2 separate regions of the Homo sapiens genome follow, and region 2 is linked to region 1. The links are contacts of gene promoters, found by promoter capture Hi-C in human tissues and cell types (Jung and others, 2019). All regions are on one chromosome and are shown on one strand. Each heading gives the region's core, a stretch centred on a gene start or on the middle of the fragment in contact. The rest is flanking DNA. Distances are from core to core; before and after follow the strand shown. Region 1 holds the start of UNC119 (unc-119 lipid binding chaperone). Region 2 overlaps SARM1 (sterile alpha and TIR motif containing 1).

Region 1 (7,112 bases), core at 2,110-4,609:
TTATTTTTTTTTTTGAGACGGAGTCTTGCTCTGTTGCCCAGGCCGGAGTGCAGTGGTGCCATTTTGGCTCACTGCAACCTCCACCTCCCGGGTTCAAGCAATTCTCTGCCTCAGCCTCCCGAGTAGCTGGGACTACAGGTGCCCGCCACCACAACTGGCTAATTTTTTGTAATTTTAGTAGAAACGGGGTTTCACCATCTTGGCCAGGCTGGTCTTGAACTCCTGACCTCGTGATCCACCCGCTTAGGCCTCCCAAAGTGCTGGGATTACAGGCGTGAGCCACTGTGCCCAGCCAGCAAAACCAGTTTTAAGAAAAATAGACTCATGAATGTCAGGTCCATGGAGTGTGATTAGGGCTGCTTAAGAAAATAGCTGTTAATTCTTATGCTGCCTGATGGATTGAGAGTGGCTGCCTGAGGCTCTGTGTTGAGGATTCTAAGGCTGTATCTGGGCTCATTAGGAAAGAGTATTCTTCTGATTGACTAGCAGTGTCTCTCACGGATGCAGGCTTAGAGAAGCACAGCACATGTGCCTTGGCAAAGGCAGTCCTGGATCATCCCTTAATGCTAAGTCCCATTGGCCCCATTTGTTCAAAGAGAGGGTAGAAAAGGTGAAAGGATTAAACTGAGTTGGTGTTATCAGAAGTATTTTAGCCATGGAACCTTTTTTTAAAAAACAAGATCTTGGAAATCTAATGTAGAAACAGGTAAAAGCAGAAACACCTGTTGAAGCAGCGTTTGGGGCCAACTTGTTTGGTGTTGCCCCTTATGCCCCCAAGACCCTGAGGTACTTCCCTTTAACCCCTATGGTTCTGGGTAAGATTGAAAATCACTGGCTCAGGACAGATATTTGAGAAATCTTAGCCATGATCTCCCGCCTTGTGGTCTCAGCCACCTTGATCTTACTCCGATGTTCCTACAGGTTGCTCTTTGGGATTGCTCAGCCCCAGCTGCCTCCAAAATGCCTGCTTTCAGGGCCTACGAGTGAAGGGCTAATGACCTGGGAGCTAGACCGGCTGCTCTGGGCTCGGTCAGTGGAGAACCTGGCCACAGCCACCACCACCCTTACCTCCCTGGCGCAGCTTCTGGGCAAGATCAGCAACATTGTCATTAAGGACGACGTGGCATCTGAGGTAAGCAGGCAGGGGATGGATTCTGCAGCTTGGGACTGGAGTAGCCAGAGAGGGCCAGAGTGTGGTGAGACCAGAGAGCCTGTGAGGTCCATGGTATGTGTGGGCTTGCCATCTTTAGTGTCCCAGCCTTCCTCTAGACGGCAGTACCAGCCCCCAAGCAGGAGTGCAGATGAGAGTGCGAGGTTTCAAGCTGACCCTAGGAAAATAAACCATATCCCTGTAGAAAGACTTCCATAGATCCTGGATGAACTCCAGGCATCTTCCTTGGTAGATGGAAGGCACAGTAAGGCCCAGCACCCTTTCCACCAATGCCTAGGACTTACTGGTATACCCTCTTGTCCCTTCTCCTTCCTAGGTGTACAAGGCTGTAGCTGCCGTCCAGAAGTCGGCAGAAGAGTTGGCGTCTGGGCACCTGGCATCTGCCTTTGTCGCCAGCCAGGAAGCTGTGACATCCTCTGAGCTTGCCTTCTTTGACCCGTCACTCCTCCACCTCCTTTATTTCCCTGATGACCAGAAGTTTGCCATCTACATCCCACTCTTCCTGCCTATGGCTGTGCCCATCCTCCTGTCCCTGGTCAAGATCTTCCTGGAGACCCGCAAGTCCTGGAGAAAGCCTGAGAAGACAGACTGAGCAGGGCAGCACCTCCATAGGAAGCCTTCCTTTCTGGCCAAGGTGGGCGGTGTTAGATTGTGAGGCACGTACATGGGGCCTGCCGGAATGACTTAAATATTTGTCTCCAGTCTCCACTGTTGGCTCTCCAGCAACCAAAGTACAACACTCCAAGATGGGTTCATCTTTTCTTCCTTTCCCATTCACCTGGCTCAATCCTCCTCCACCACCAGGGGCCTCAAAAGGCACATCATCCGGGTCTCCTTATCTTGTTTGATAAGGCTGCTGCCTGTCTCCCTCTGTGGCAAGGACTGTTTGTTCTTTTGCCCCATTTCTCAACATAGCACACTTGTGCACTGAGAGGAGGGAGCATTATGGGAAAGTCCCTGCCTTCCACACCTCTCTCTAGTCCCTGTGGGACAGCCCTAGCCCCTGCTGTCATGAAGGGGCCAGGCATTGGTCACCTGTGGGACCTTCTCCCTCACTCCCCTCCCTCCTAGTTGGCTTTGTCTGTCAGGTGCAGTCTGGCGGGAGTCCAGGAGGCAGCAGCTCAGGACATGGTGCTGTGTGTGTGTGTGTGTGTGTGTGTGTGTGTGTGTGTCAGAGGTTCCAGAAAGTTCCAGATTTGGAATCAAACAGTCCTGAATTCAAATCCTTGTTTTTGCACTTATTGTCTGGAGAGCTTTGGATAAGGTATTGAATCTCTCTGAGCCTCAGTTTTTCATTTGTTCAAATGGCACTGATGATGTCTCCCTTACAAGATGGTTGTGAGGAGTAAATGTGATCAGCATGTAAAGTGTCTGGCGTGTAGTAGGCTCTTAATAAACACTGGCTGAATATGAATTGGAATGATACAAAGTCTGAGCTCTACTCTTTCTGCATTCACGCGTAAGTAACAGTTTCCTGGTGTTTGTCCTCCTGTGCCCACAGGTCCACTTTGCTTCCACGTGGCCATGTGCCCTTCCTAGCTGGATTGCCCAAGGCTGTTAGCATCTGCTTTTTACCTGAGATACTAATTCATCAGGTCAAAAAAAAAAAAAAAAAAAAAAAAAAAGTCTTGAGCACCAGCTGCAGGGAGCCTTCTGCTAGGTACAGGGGTCCTACAGAGAACAAAGTAGGCAGGACCAGTGCTTTCACAGAGCTGAGCTTTCAGGGGGAAGAGTCAGCGGACAAATAAAAATAATTTCACATAATGCATTAGAAAGACAAAAACAGGCTGGTCAGATGGTGACTGAGGGGGAAGGACTTCAGACTGGGTGTGAGGGAGGCCCTTTGAGCAGATGACATTTGAGCTGTGACTAGGAGAAAAGAGGCCATCTGGGGAAGACCATCCAAGCAGAGACCCTGAGCCTGGAACTCACGGGCAGAAAGGCTGGAACACAATGAGTAAGCGGAGAGGTAGTCAGGACCCCACTAGTACCAGTACAAGAAAGTGTTAGAAAAACAGAATGAAGCCCAGGGCAGGATACCCCGACTCCCATCCCCCGCGCCCGTCGCATTTCGGGAGGGTTGGGCCGGGCGGCGGGCGGGATCAGCGCAGGGCCCACCCCAGGGGCGGGGCCGGGGCGGGGCAGTACCTGGGGCCCCGGCCGGGGGCGGGGCTGCGGATGCTCCCACTTCCCCCGGCTCCAGCCGGCGCAGGCAGCGGCGGCAGCAGCAGGCGAGCCTCGGCCCCGCAAGGCCATGAAGGTGAAGAAGGGCGGCGGTGGGGCCGGGACGGCGACGGAGTCCGCTCCGGGGCCCTCGGGCCAGAGCGTGGCCCCCATACCACAGCCGCCTGCGGAATCCGAATCTGGGTCCGAGTCGGAGCCGGACGCAGGCCCAGGGCCCAGGCCGGGGCCGCTGCAGAGGAAGCAGCCGATCGGGCCGGAGGACGTGCTGGGGCTGCAGCGGATCACCGGTGGTGAGCACCCGCGAGGGAGCGCCGCCCGCGGGTGGGAAGGGGAGAGGGTGCGAGGGGCCCTCCCGGCGCGCCAAGCCCTGGCCCCCGCCCCCTTTCCCGCCTCCCCTCCCCCACCGAGTCCCCTCTCCTGTGTCCCCTGCTCTCCCTTCTGCCGCCAGGTCTGAGATCTCTGTGTACCCCCTTCCCTTGATCTCTCTCTGTGCCTCCTTCTTCTCCCTTTCGAGATTTATTCCTTCCTTTTCCAGGGGCCCGTCCCCTTTTCCCAGCGTGGAGGTACGTGCGGCAGCAGCTGCAACCATAGCCCTGTAGCTGTGGAGTCTCCAGAGCGCTTTGAGGCCCGTCCCTGCACTAATGAAGAGAGGGGCTGAGTGCAGCCTGTCCTCAGCCCCCACGCTGGAGGCTAGGTGGAGGCTGAGTTACTTGGGAGGCATTCAGACTCTTCATGTCTCCCCAACCATTAATACCCTCACCCTGATCCTCCAGGAAGACTTGGGCCATTTTCTTCCCCGGGAAAGAAACTGAGCAGGCAGCTTTAGTGTGTTGGCTGTGGTTCCTCTCATGGGGAGTGGCATAATGTCCCTCCAAGCCTGGACTAGCACCTGTCCTCTTCTGGGGGCTCTGTCATCAAGGGAGGCTTGGTCTCCACTGTGGTTAAGAGTTTCTGAGCTGGACTGCCTGGGTTGGAGTTCCAACTCTGCCATATAATTGTCTGTGTGACCTTGGGCAAGTAACCTCACCTCTCTGAGCATGTCTTTTCATCTGTAAAATGGGGATAATGATACCTTTCTCGTAAGATTATTGTGAAGATAAGTCCTCTGATTCTGTACAGTGCCTGGCATCTATGCATGCTGTGTACATTGGGCTCTTTGATCAGTAGTATTTTTGGGCCCTACAGGGCTGCTCATAGCTGCTGCCTGGAGTCAAACAACTTGGCTTTCAGGGCAGGGGAGGGGGTCATCATAGGCAGGGAACGAGGGCTAGGAAACCTCATAGCAGAGGCTTTGGATGAGCCTCAAAGGATGAAAGGTGCATGGAGAGACAGTGGCTCTCCACCTTGGCCACATTCACCAGCAACCTGCCCTGGCCCCCTTTGTGAGAATAACTGTTGGGGGGGGCCTCTCTGTGGGTATGGGGGGCATGTATTGGAGTGGACCTGAGCCCTAGAGCTTCCAAAGCAGCAGAACACCGGACTCCCAGACAGAGCTGTGGAGGGGAGACAGCCTTGAGCCTGTGCTCCTGGGTCCCTGGGGGCCAATTCCTCTCTCCTTACTGAGCTAGGCAGCAGCCATTCTTAGCTGGGCCCCCAGAGTACTGAGCTCCCTTGCCCAAGCAGGCATCAATGGAGAGAGGGAGGCTGGACCAGGCTGATGTTGAAGCCAGTTGGGCTACAATTTGCAATAGCAGCATTTAGGATTCAGCTTAGCTCTGGGGCAGAACTTTCTCAGACTGACTGAGTCCTGAGTAACTTTGGGGGTTTATTTTGCAACTAGAGGGAGCTTCCAGCTCATGTACCACCATTTGTCTCCTAATTTGGAGGAAATTCATAGCCCTTAGAGATGGGGCATCTGTGAAGGGTAAGTAGAGGAAAGGGCTTCATGAGAACCCCTTCCTGTGCAGGAATTGAGAACAGAGTTCCAGGGATTTCCACCCTGGCACCCCTTGCCTGGTCTCTTCTGACCCTAATCATGCAGGTCTGAGGTTTGCTGTTCCCAGATTACTGGGCCCTGAATCCAGCTTAGGAAGCTATTTGTGGCTGAGAGGAATAGAGCAGTTGTGTTCTGAGCCCTTGGCCACTCTGCCCCTTATTCTGACCTGACCCTGGGTCCCAGGCCTCATCCTTTCTAGAAGAGAAGGAGTGGCCGTGGTGTTCTGAGCCATAGATATCCGTGTTCCTCACTTCTTCTAAGGACAGAGAGGTTGATAGATTGAGTTTGCAGTAGAAGAGACTGAGGTTAGACTGCAGGAAGTTGTTCCCAAATGAGAGAGGCTCCAAAAGTTGGAGAATGGGAGAAGAGAAGGCCTTACAGGGATCTGGGAGTTGGGCACTGGGATCCTGCTCCCCACTCTGCCACCTCCGTTCCCTATGCTCTGTACCTTCTTTCTATGTCTTTATACTGGTGCTTACTTTCTGTGAAAATAGGGTGAATGGGGTGAGATAGGGGTTGCCCACTTCCATTCTCTCCCCACCCCACATGTGGGCTGTAGTAGACTCAGGGCCCTGCCTCTTCCCCAAGCTGTATAAAGTCCATGCTGGGCCCCAGGGTACCAGATGGCTGCCAGGAGGGCTTCCTGGAGGGGACAGCGTCAGGCTTGGGGAAGAAGCAGACCTGGGGAAGAGAAAATGACTTTATATTCACTTCCTGTTCCTGCCCCAGAGGAATAGGAGGTGGCCCAGGGGCCTGGAGGGTGATTTCCAGGCCTCTGTGGGCCACCAGGGGAGGATGTGATGCTGTGCAGGCTGACAGCACGAGTCCCTCCCTGCACCTCTCAGCTCTTTTTGTTGCCAGGGCCTCCCTGAGCACTTGAAGTTGCTGCTGCAAGAGCTGTGAGGGTTAGATCAGGCCCTGTAGCTCCCTGAGCTTCCTCAGGCAGGGCCTCCCACTGTTCTTGGTTCCCTTCCTGGGCCTGAGGACTCCCCTTACCCCTTCCACACCCACTGCTGCACCTGCCACACCCTCCTCCTGGCCTAGCCTGTGTTCTTCTCTATGGGGGTCCAGGACTACTTTCTCCATGGTGGTGGCTCATAGCCAGGGCTGCGTAAATGACCTCTAAGGGGGTTCTCTCTGCTTGCTAAGACTTCCTCCCATTTGGAGATCAACAAAGGATGAGAGCAAAGTTGGCCTCCTCCCACCTGCCATATCCCAGGCTCTGGGCTTGAGTCAGCAGAGCTTTGGTTAAGCTGCTTAAGGGAGCTGGGCTGGTGTAAGCTTCTTACTGAGAGGAGGGGGTTTGGAGGAGAGGAGGAATAGGGAAGGGGTTGTTCACCTGCCCCAGCCCCACCCATATCAGGGAAAGTCCCCTTAACATCAGCCTCACCTGATACATCTAGATGTCATGCCAGGGGCAGCTGTGGGGTGAGGGTAGGAGTATCCTCCAGAGAAGGACAGTGACTCTCCCAAGACAGAGCTGTGTGGCCCCCTTTACAGGTGGTTCTCAAAGGCAGGGTACCAGAGAAGTTGATACACTGAGTTGCAGTAGAAGAGACAGGTCAGACTGCAGGAAGTTGTTCCCATATGAGAAGAGAGGCTCCCACCAGGCTGGATACCTAATTCTCCCAAAGTCATCTAGCCAGCCTTGGCAGAGCGGAGGCCAGAATGAGGACCCTCAACTCCAGAGTGGGAGAGAGAGTGTTCAGGAGGTGGCCTTGTCCTCTACCCTTCTCTGCCCTGCCCTTCCCTGGCCCCCAGAGACCAGTAGGATGGCACTCCTTATCCCCTGTTAGATCCCCATGGCGGAGTTATGTCTCT
Region 2 (7,112 bases), core at 1,405-3,904, 160 kb after region 1:
CTAGCTATTCATGGGGGAAGAAAACCCAACCAGCCAATCAACCAAACTAACAAAACTTTGATTTGTAGTGGTTGCCAATTTCCTTGGTGTAAATACTCCCACCATGGCTGATGACAAGCTACCAACATGACATCACTGGATGTGGAGTTGTGAAGAGATACAATCATCTCTGGTGTCAACCGAATCCAGCCCTACCCCATCACCTCCCCTCACACCCCCTCAGAGCTGTGCCATAGAATGCAGTGTGGATCTTGGGAAAGTGATGAGCTTTGGAGTCAGATAGATGGAATTTGAAGCCTAGCTTTTCTGATTTCTACACTAGTAGTGCAGCCAGGGGAACATTATTCTACTTTTCTGAGCCTCAGTTTCTTCATCTGTGATATGGAGAAAGCAGTACCAAGATGTATGTGGGCTTTCAGCACTGTTCTCCTCCCTACCTTTATTCCTTTGCTCATGCTGTTACCCTGGCCTGGGATGCCTTCTATTCCACTTACCCAGATTCTTAAGATTCTTCTCAAGACCTGCTTCCTCCATGAAGTCTTCCCTGATTATTCCAGTCCTTTGAGGACTAAACTCTGATTTTTTTTTTTTTTATCTTGCCCAAATTCCTACCTAAGGAGCCTAGGGAGTCATGCCCTACAAACCATAAAGTCTTATCGGAGGAGGTTTTAATTTTAACCCTATATAGCGTGGTCTGCTTTCTAACCTGACTCTAGCATAACATCACATAATAAGGGAGGAAATAAAAATATTTTAACCCCAAATATATTTCCCTGCCATATCTTGAAATTGCTCCACAAGTTTGTCTCTTGTGGGAAAAGGCCACATTCTATAGAGAATCCCCTTCCCCCCATTTTTTTCTTTTTCTTTCCGGACTCAGGAGATAATCAACAAAGAGCCAGGCACCCTTATAAGTCTGATAAGAAACATTTTATAACCTACTCCCTCTGAAGTCTGCCCTGAGAACTTCCTCTGCACAATAAAACTTGGTCTCCACAACCCTTTATCTTAACCTAAACATTCCCTTTCTATTGATCCCAGGTCTTCAGATAAACTCAATTAATTATCAACTGGAAAAATTTAAAATTTACCTATAGCCTGGAAGCCCCTGCTTTGAGCTGTCCTGCCTTTCTGAACCAAACCAATGTACATCTTAAATGTATTGATTGATGTCTCGTGTCTCCCAAAAATGTATAAAACCAAACTGTGCCCTGATCACCTTGGGCACGTGTTCTCAGGGTCTCCTGAGGGCTGTGTCACAGGCCATGGTCGCTCATAGAGTCTGACTCTTTTCGTTGACACCTTGATGCTCTCTCCCTTCTCCAAACCCCTGTGGCAAGCAAGATGTTTGCTTACCTGGCTCAGCATTTACACCAACTTGTATGCGATCTAGTCATTTTGAGACAGGGTCCCACTCTGTTGCCCAAGCTGGAGTGCAGTGGTGTGATCTCCGTCTTCTGGGCCCAAGCGATTCCCCTGCCTCAGTCTCCTGAGTAGCTGGGATTACAGGTGTGCGCCACCATGCCTGGCTAATTTTTGTATTTTTTTAGTAGAGACAAGGTTTCACCATGTTGCCCAGGCTGGTCTCGAACTCCTGACCTCAAGTGATCCTCCTGCCTCAGCCTCCCAAAGTGCTGGGATTACGGGTGTGAACCACTGTGCCCAGCCCTCTGGGCATATTCTTGTCTCTGAGCTGACTGCTTGTCTCATCCTGTCTCTTAGATGACTACTGCATCCCTCAGCCCCAACTCCAATTCCTACTGACCGATTAATGATTAATAACCTGAAGATGCAATATGGAGCTATCCATCAATGCATTCTGTTAGTATTCAATAAGTTCCTACAATGCGTCAGGCACTGAAAATACAATGATGAATTAAACAGATATAGTAGTTATAATAATTATATTAATAATAATAATTGCTACCATTATTGAGCAGTTACTATGTGCCAGCCATTCTGCTAAGCACTTCACAAATTTTGGCTTTTTTAGTCCTTATAACAATGTTCTAGGGAGTTAGATACTATTATTATACCCTCTTTCCAGAAATAAATATGAAGCTTATCGGGGTTAAGTAACTTGCCCAAGGCCAGAGCCAGGATTCAAACTCTCAGTTTTGAGCTCTCAACAACTATTCCATTCTGCCTGTCGCTATGCTCTCCTGTCTCTCATGGAATTTATTTTTCAAAGCATTTTTATGTCTCTCTGATCCTCACAACAGTTCTATAAGGTGAGTGGAACAGGTAAGTTACCCCATTTTGCAGAAAAGAAAACTGAGGCTCACATCCTGGCTAACACGGTGAAACCCTGTCTCTACTAAAAATACAAAAAAATTAGCCAGCCGTGGTGGCGGGCACCTGTAGTCCCAGCTACTCGGGAGGCTGAGGGAGGAGAATGGTGTGAACCCGGGAGGTGGAGCTTGCAGTGAGCCAAGATCACGCCATTGCACTCCAGCCTGAGTGACAGAGCGAGACTCTACCTCAAAAACAAAAAAAAAAAAAAAAGAAAAAGAAAACTGAGGCTCAGAGAGCCAAAGCCTAGTCTCTTGTCCCTTGTGGTTTGCTAAAGTCCTATTACAGTCAGAGCTGTGGTTCCTGACTTCCAGCTGGGCCAAGGAGGTGCTTCAGGGCTAAGTGTGCCGGGATGTGCAGACAAGAAGGAATAGAAGACGACCCTATCTTCTGGACCACAGGCCAATGCTGGGACCGCAGAAGCATAGGCAGGCACCTACCTTATGCACCCAATCCTTGCAGTCATGGTCTTGCATGCACTTGTCCAGTGCTCCAGGTGATAGCACCAACACAAAGTTGCGGGCACCCATGACACTCTGGATGAGTTTGTCCTCGAACTTGCCTGCTTCCAGCTTCTCCACATCAATGAAGACACTGAAGCCATGCAGCTGCAGGTGCACCTTCAGGAGACTGCAAGTAAGTCCTGTGTCAGTGCCACAGCCTTGTCCCCACGCCCCGTCGCTGCCCGCCCGCCCCTCCTCACCTGGCCAGCTGGGAACCTGAGTTCCGGCGGTAGCTGATGAAGACATCTGGAGTGTCCCCACTGGGTTTGCCACCAGTACAGGGCAGCGGGGAGTGTAGCATTTCTGAAGTGGGCAATAGGCAGCATGGTGAAGGTGGCCCCTCCGCATCACTCACTGTCAGGTATATCATCCCTTGTGGACTTAGTCCCCAGTCCACCAAGCCCTCTCAGCCCAGCCTGGGGAGGGTGGCCTGCCCCAAAAAGGAGAAATGGGGCCTCCAGGAGGAAGGTCATGTTATTGTTGGGTTCCTCTTAGGAGGCAGGCACTGTGTTCTAGGGACATTGATATGCATGCACTTCCAGCCCTGACCTCTCTCTGGAACTCCAGACCTGAACAGCCAGCTGCCCACAATCACTCCAAATTCAACACACCCCAAATCTCCCCCTCATTCCTTCTTCCCTATTTCCCACCAAAGCCAGACACCTGGGTATCAGCCTCAACTCCTGCCTCCCATTTAATTTATTCAACAAATACATCCTAAGCACTTGCTGTGTGCCAGGACTGTCTTCAGTGCTTGAGATTCAGCAGTGAGTAAAACAGACAGCACTCTGCTCCTCTGGAGCCACGCTCAGTACTAAGCGCCAGGCACCGCATTCTGAGGATTCTACCTACTAAACATACTGGACTCCAGCCTCCGGGCCCTTCCCTGGCTCAGGTTTCCAATGCCAGCCTCCTCAATGGCCTCCCCAAACCCAGCTAGAATTGCCCAGTCTAGGCCAGGGCAGTGGCCCACACCTGTAATCCCAGCACTGTGGGGGGCCAAGGTGGGTGGATCACTTGAGGCCAGGAGTTCGAGACCAGCCTGGCCAATATGGTGAAACCCTGTCTTTACAAAAAATTATCCAGGCATGGTGGCACATGTCTGTAATCTAGCTACTTGGGAGGCTGAGGCACGAGAATCACTTGAACCCAGGAGGCAGAGGTTGCAGTGAGCCAAGAATGCACCACCGCACTCTAGCCTGGGCGACAGAGTGAGACTCTGACTAAAAAAAAAAAAAAAGAAAAGAAAAGAAAAGAAAAGAATTGCCCAGTGTAGTCCATTTGCCACAGCTACCAGAACATCTTTCTAAAATCCAAATCTGAGCATGTCATTCCTCCCACTTAAAAACTATGCATGGCTCCCTACTCACTATACAAACTATTTTTTGTAAGCTATTTTTGCCCTAGGATTTTCCTGTTGTTTAAAAATGAAATCTTGCGCTGGGTGCGGTGGCCCACGCCCGTAATCTCAACACTTTGGGAGGCTAAGTTGGGAAGATTGCTTGAGGCCAGGAGTTTGAGAACAGCCTGGGCAACATAGTGAAACCCTGTCTCCACAAAAAATAAAAAAATTAGCTGGGTGTGGTGTTGCGCACCTGTGGTCCCAGCTACTTGGGAGGTGAGGTGGGAGAATCACTTGAGCCCGGGAGGTTGAGGCTTCAGTGGGTTGTGATTGCGCCACTGCACTCCAGCCTAGGTGACAGAATGAGACCTTGTCTCAAATTAATTAATTATAATAAAAATGAAATCTTGAAGTTTTAATGGGAGCTGCAATGTAAAAATAATAAAAGCCAACCTGCTTTGGTTGAAGCATAAGAATGCAGCCAAAGCTCAGTCCCTTGTGTCTTGTGGGTGCTTAGTCTGTAATTGCTGAATGAAAGGATAAAATGAAAAGAATTCATCTTCTTATAATATTTAGACATAACCCTCATAGACAACATTTGTTTGTTTATGAAGCAGAAAGACAAGGGCTCAAGTCCCAGTTTTGCCATCTAATGACTTTTATGACTGTGGGAAATGTATTTGAATTCTTTAAATGTTAGTTTCATTATCTTTAAAAGGAACACCCATGATGGAAATATTCTATATCTTTAATGATGATGGTGGGGGTGGGGGGTCACACAGATGTCTTTCAAAACTCCTCAAACTGATACTTTTTTTCTTTTTTGAGATAGGGTCTCACTCCTGCTGCCTAGGCTGGATGGAGTGTAGTGACCTGATCACAGTTCACTGCGGCCTTAACTTCCTGGGCTCAGGTGATCCTCCCACCTCAGCCTCCCAAGTAGCTGGGACTACAGGTATGCGCCACCACACCTAGCTAATTTTTTGTATTTTTTTGTGCTTTTAGTGGAGATGGGCTTTCACCATGTTGCCCAGGTTGGTCTCAAACTCCTGGACTTGAGCGATCCGCCTGCCTTGGCCTCCCAAAGTCCTAGAATTACAGGCATGAGCCACGGTGCCCGGCCCTCAAACTGGACACTTACTCCTCTTTTTATTCTTTCAAGAGTTCTTTAAGGTTGATTTTAAAAACTGAACACTCATTGCATAGAATCAATATAGAGACTGATGGGATAATATCTTAAAAACCAAACAGAGTACCTTGTAATTGACAATAAAGATTAGCTAAGTAGTAAATTAGTAAGTAAAAATAAATTAGTAAATAAGGAGGGTGGCTAGAGGCCTAGAATTCACTCTAAACCACCTCTAGACCCAAATTTTGTAAGCTGTTGGCCAATAGGATAACACACATACGCACACCCTTCCCGCCTACACCCCACTGCATGGACTCTCCATAGGCCGCTGCCTCTGCCTGGGCTGCCCTTCCTGTTGCCACCCCTCCCCGCCAGTGCACCTCTCAAGACATGGTCAGGCATCCTGTCCTCTCTGAAATCTAGACCTGGGTGGATGGGGTGGGCTGGGCTTCCTCTGTGCTCCCACTGGAGACCTGGGTAGCTTCCTGCCGGGGCCGCTTGCCTGTTTAATAGCCTCCTTCCTCCCACCGCCTACCCACCTCAGACTGGGAACTTCTTGAGGTAAAGTGCAACGTATTCATCTTTACATCCTCAGAGCCCAGTGTGACCCACGTTTGTGCTCAATCAATCCACGGCGAGGCTGGAAGGCTCCACCCCGTGTCTCCCCTCACCATTCCAGGGCCGTGGCTGGGGCTGGGGCTGGGGCGGGGTCCCGGGTGAGCGGGCTGACCTCTGGCCGCCGTGAGGATGCGGGCGCGGTGCACGCCCAGGTGGATGCCGCAGTCTTCCAGCAGCTGCTGCTCAGACACGCGGTGCAGCAGGGAGCGGTCCAGGCCGCAGCTGACCAGGCCGTAGGTGTACTGGCGGAAGCGCGGGTCCAGGCTGCCCAGCCAGTCCGCCAGGTTGCTGCGGTCGCACGTAGAATAGTTGGCGAAGGTCTTGAGCTCCGTGAGCTCCCTAAAGAACCTGCACCCCACGGAGGAGAAGACGCTGAGGTCCAGACTCGGACGGGCTGTGGGCGGAGGGGGAGCTTATTTAGACCTAGCTGGGGTCCGGCGGGCAGGAGGCTCCGTACCTCTTGCGGGTGATGCCCGATTTCATGCCCAGGTCGGTCTGGAGTTCCTCCTCCGTGAGCCGCAGAAGCAGGTCGCCATCCACCTGCTGCTCCTGGGGGAGGAGTCGGGTGTCAGGAAGGGCTTCGCTACTCCGCCCTTGGACCTCGAGCACAAGATGCAAGGGAAGGAACTGGAGATGGCGTGGAGGAGGCGGATGGGACCTAGATCAGAGCCGAGTGACCCTAACGGTGGCTGCGTACAGGCTCCCCGCCCCCAAAAGCGACCCTGGCGCCGCGGGATTGCGAGGCGGGGAGGGAACGCAGTCCCTGTGCACAGGGCGCCCGCTCTGACTCGGGGGAGGCGTATCCCACGCGACTCTACCCGGAAGCTCTCGCAGTACTTGGAGAAACCGATCTGCTGCAGCCACGTCTGAACCTCGGCCTCCTTCCAGCTGGGCACGGAGGGCAGGATGGGCCGTGGCACCTCCTCGCCCAGCAGGCGCAGCGCGCGCTTGGCCAGCGCCGACTTAGTGCCATTGGTAGAGTAGGAAACCAGGCGTTTCAGGCTCTGGATGGCGCCGATGTCGCTGAACACCTAGGGAGGGAGTGGGGAGAGGGCTGTAGGTCCCACCAGCTCTCCAGGTGCTCCCACACGTGCCCAGTCCCTCTCCTTGTCTCTTCTCACAACCCAAAGTCTCTCCATCTGCCCTGGCCCCACCTTCAGCCACTAAGTCATGGGGTCCTGCGGATTCCCCCTCCTGAAGTTCTCTCAATTCTTGACCAGGTCCTGAC

The links. The method cuts DNA at HindIII sites, captures the fragments that hold promoters and counts their contacts. A contact is called where the count stands out against the background at its distance.
Region 2: a fragment that was not itself captured here is called in contact with the fragment with the promoter of UNC119 in region 1 in 1 of the 25 tissues and cell types used here (dorsolateral prefrontal cortex).

What each region holds. Positions count from the first base shown.
Region 1 is chr17:28,548,871-28,555,982 of GRCh38, reverse strand. It overlaps UNC119 (unc-119 lipid binding chaperone), which reads left to right and starts at 3,359. Exons shown (of 5, transcript NM_005148.4): 1 at 3,359-3,645. The coding sequence starts at 3,426. PIGS (phosphatidylinositol glycan anchor biosynthesis class S) reads left to right here. Exons shown (of 12, transcript NM_033198.4): 11 at 922-1,132; 12 at 1,488-2,596. The coding sequence ends at 1,763. RefSeq lists silencers at 3,183-3,632, 3,693-3,742, 5,793-5,842. The HindIII fragment of the contact is 10,966 bases long and covers 1-7,112 here.
Region 2 is chr17:28,384,160-28,391,271 of GRCh38, reverse strand. It overlaps SARM1 (sterile alpha and TIR motif containing 1), which reads right to left. Exons shown (of 9, transcript NM_015077.4): 3 at 6,703-6,915; 4 at 6,342-6,433; 5 at 5,997-6,232; 6 at 2,996-3,098; 7 at 2,733-2,922. Among named protein-coding and RNA genes, the nearest start is that of SARM1, 16 kb to the right of the region's middle. RefSeq lists an enhancer at 6,256-6,325. The HindIII fragment of the contact is 5,996 bases long and covers 1-5,652 here.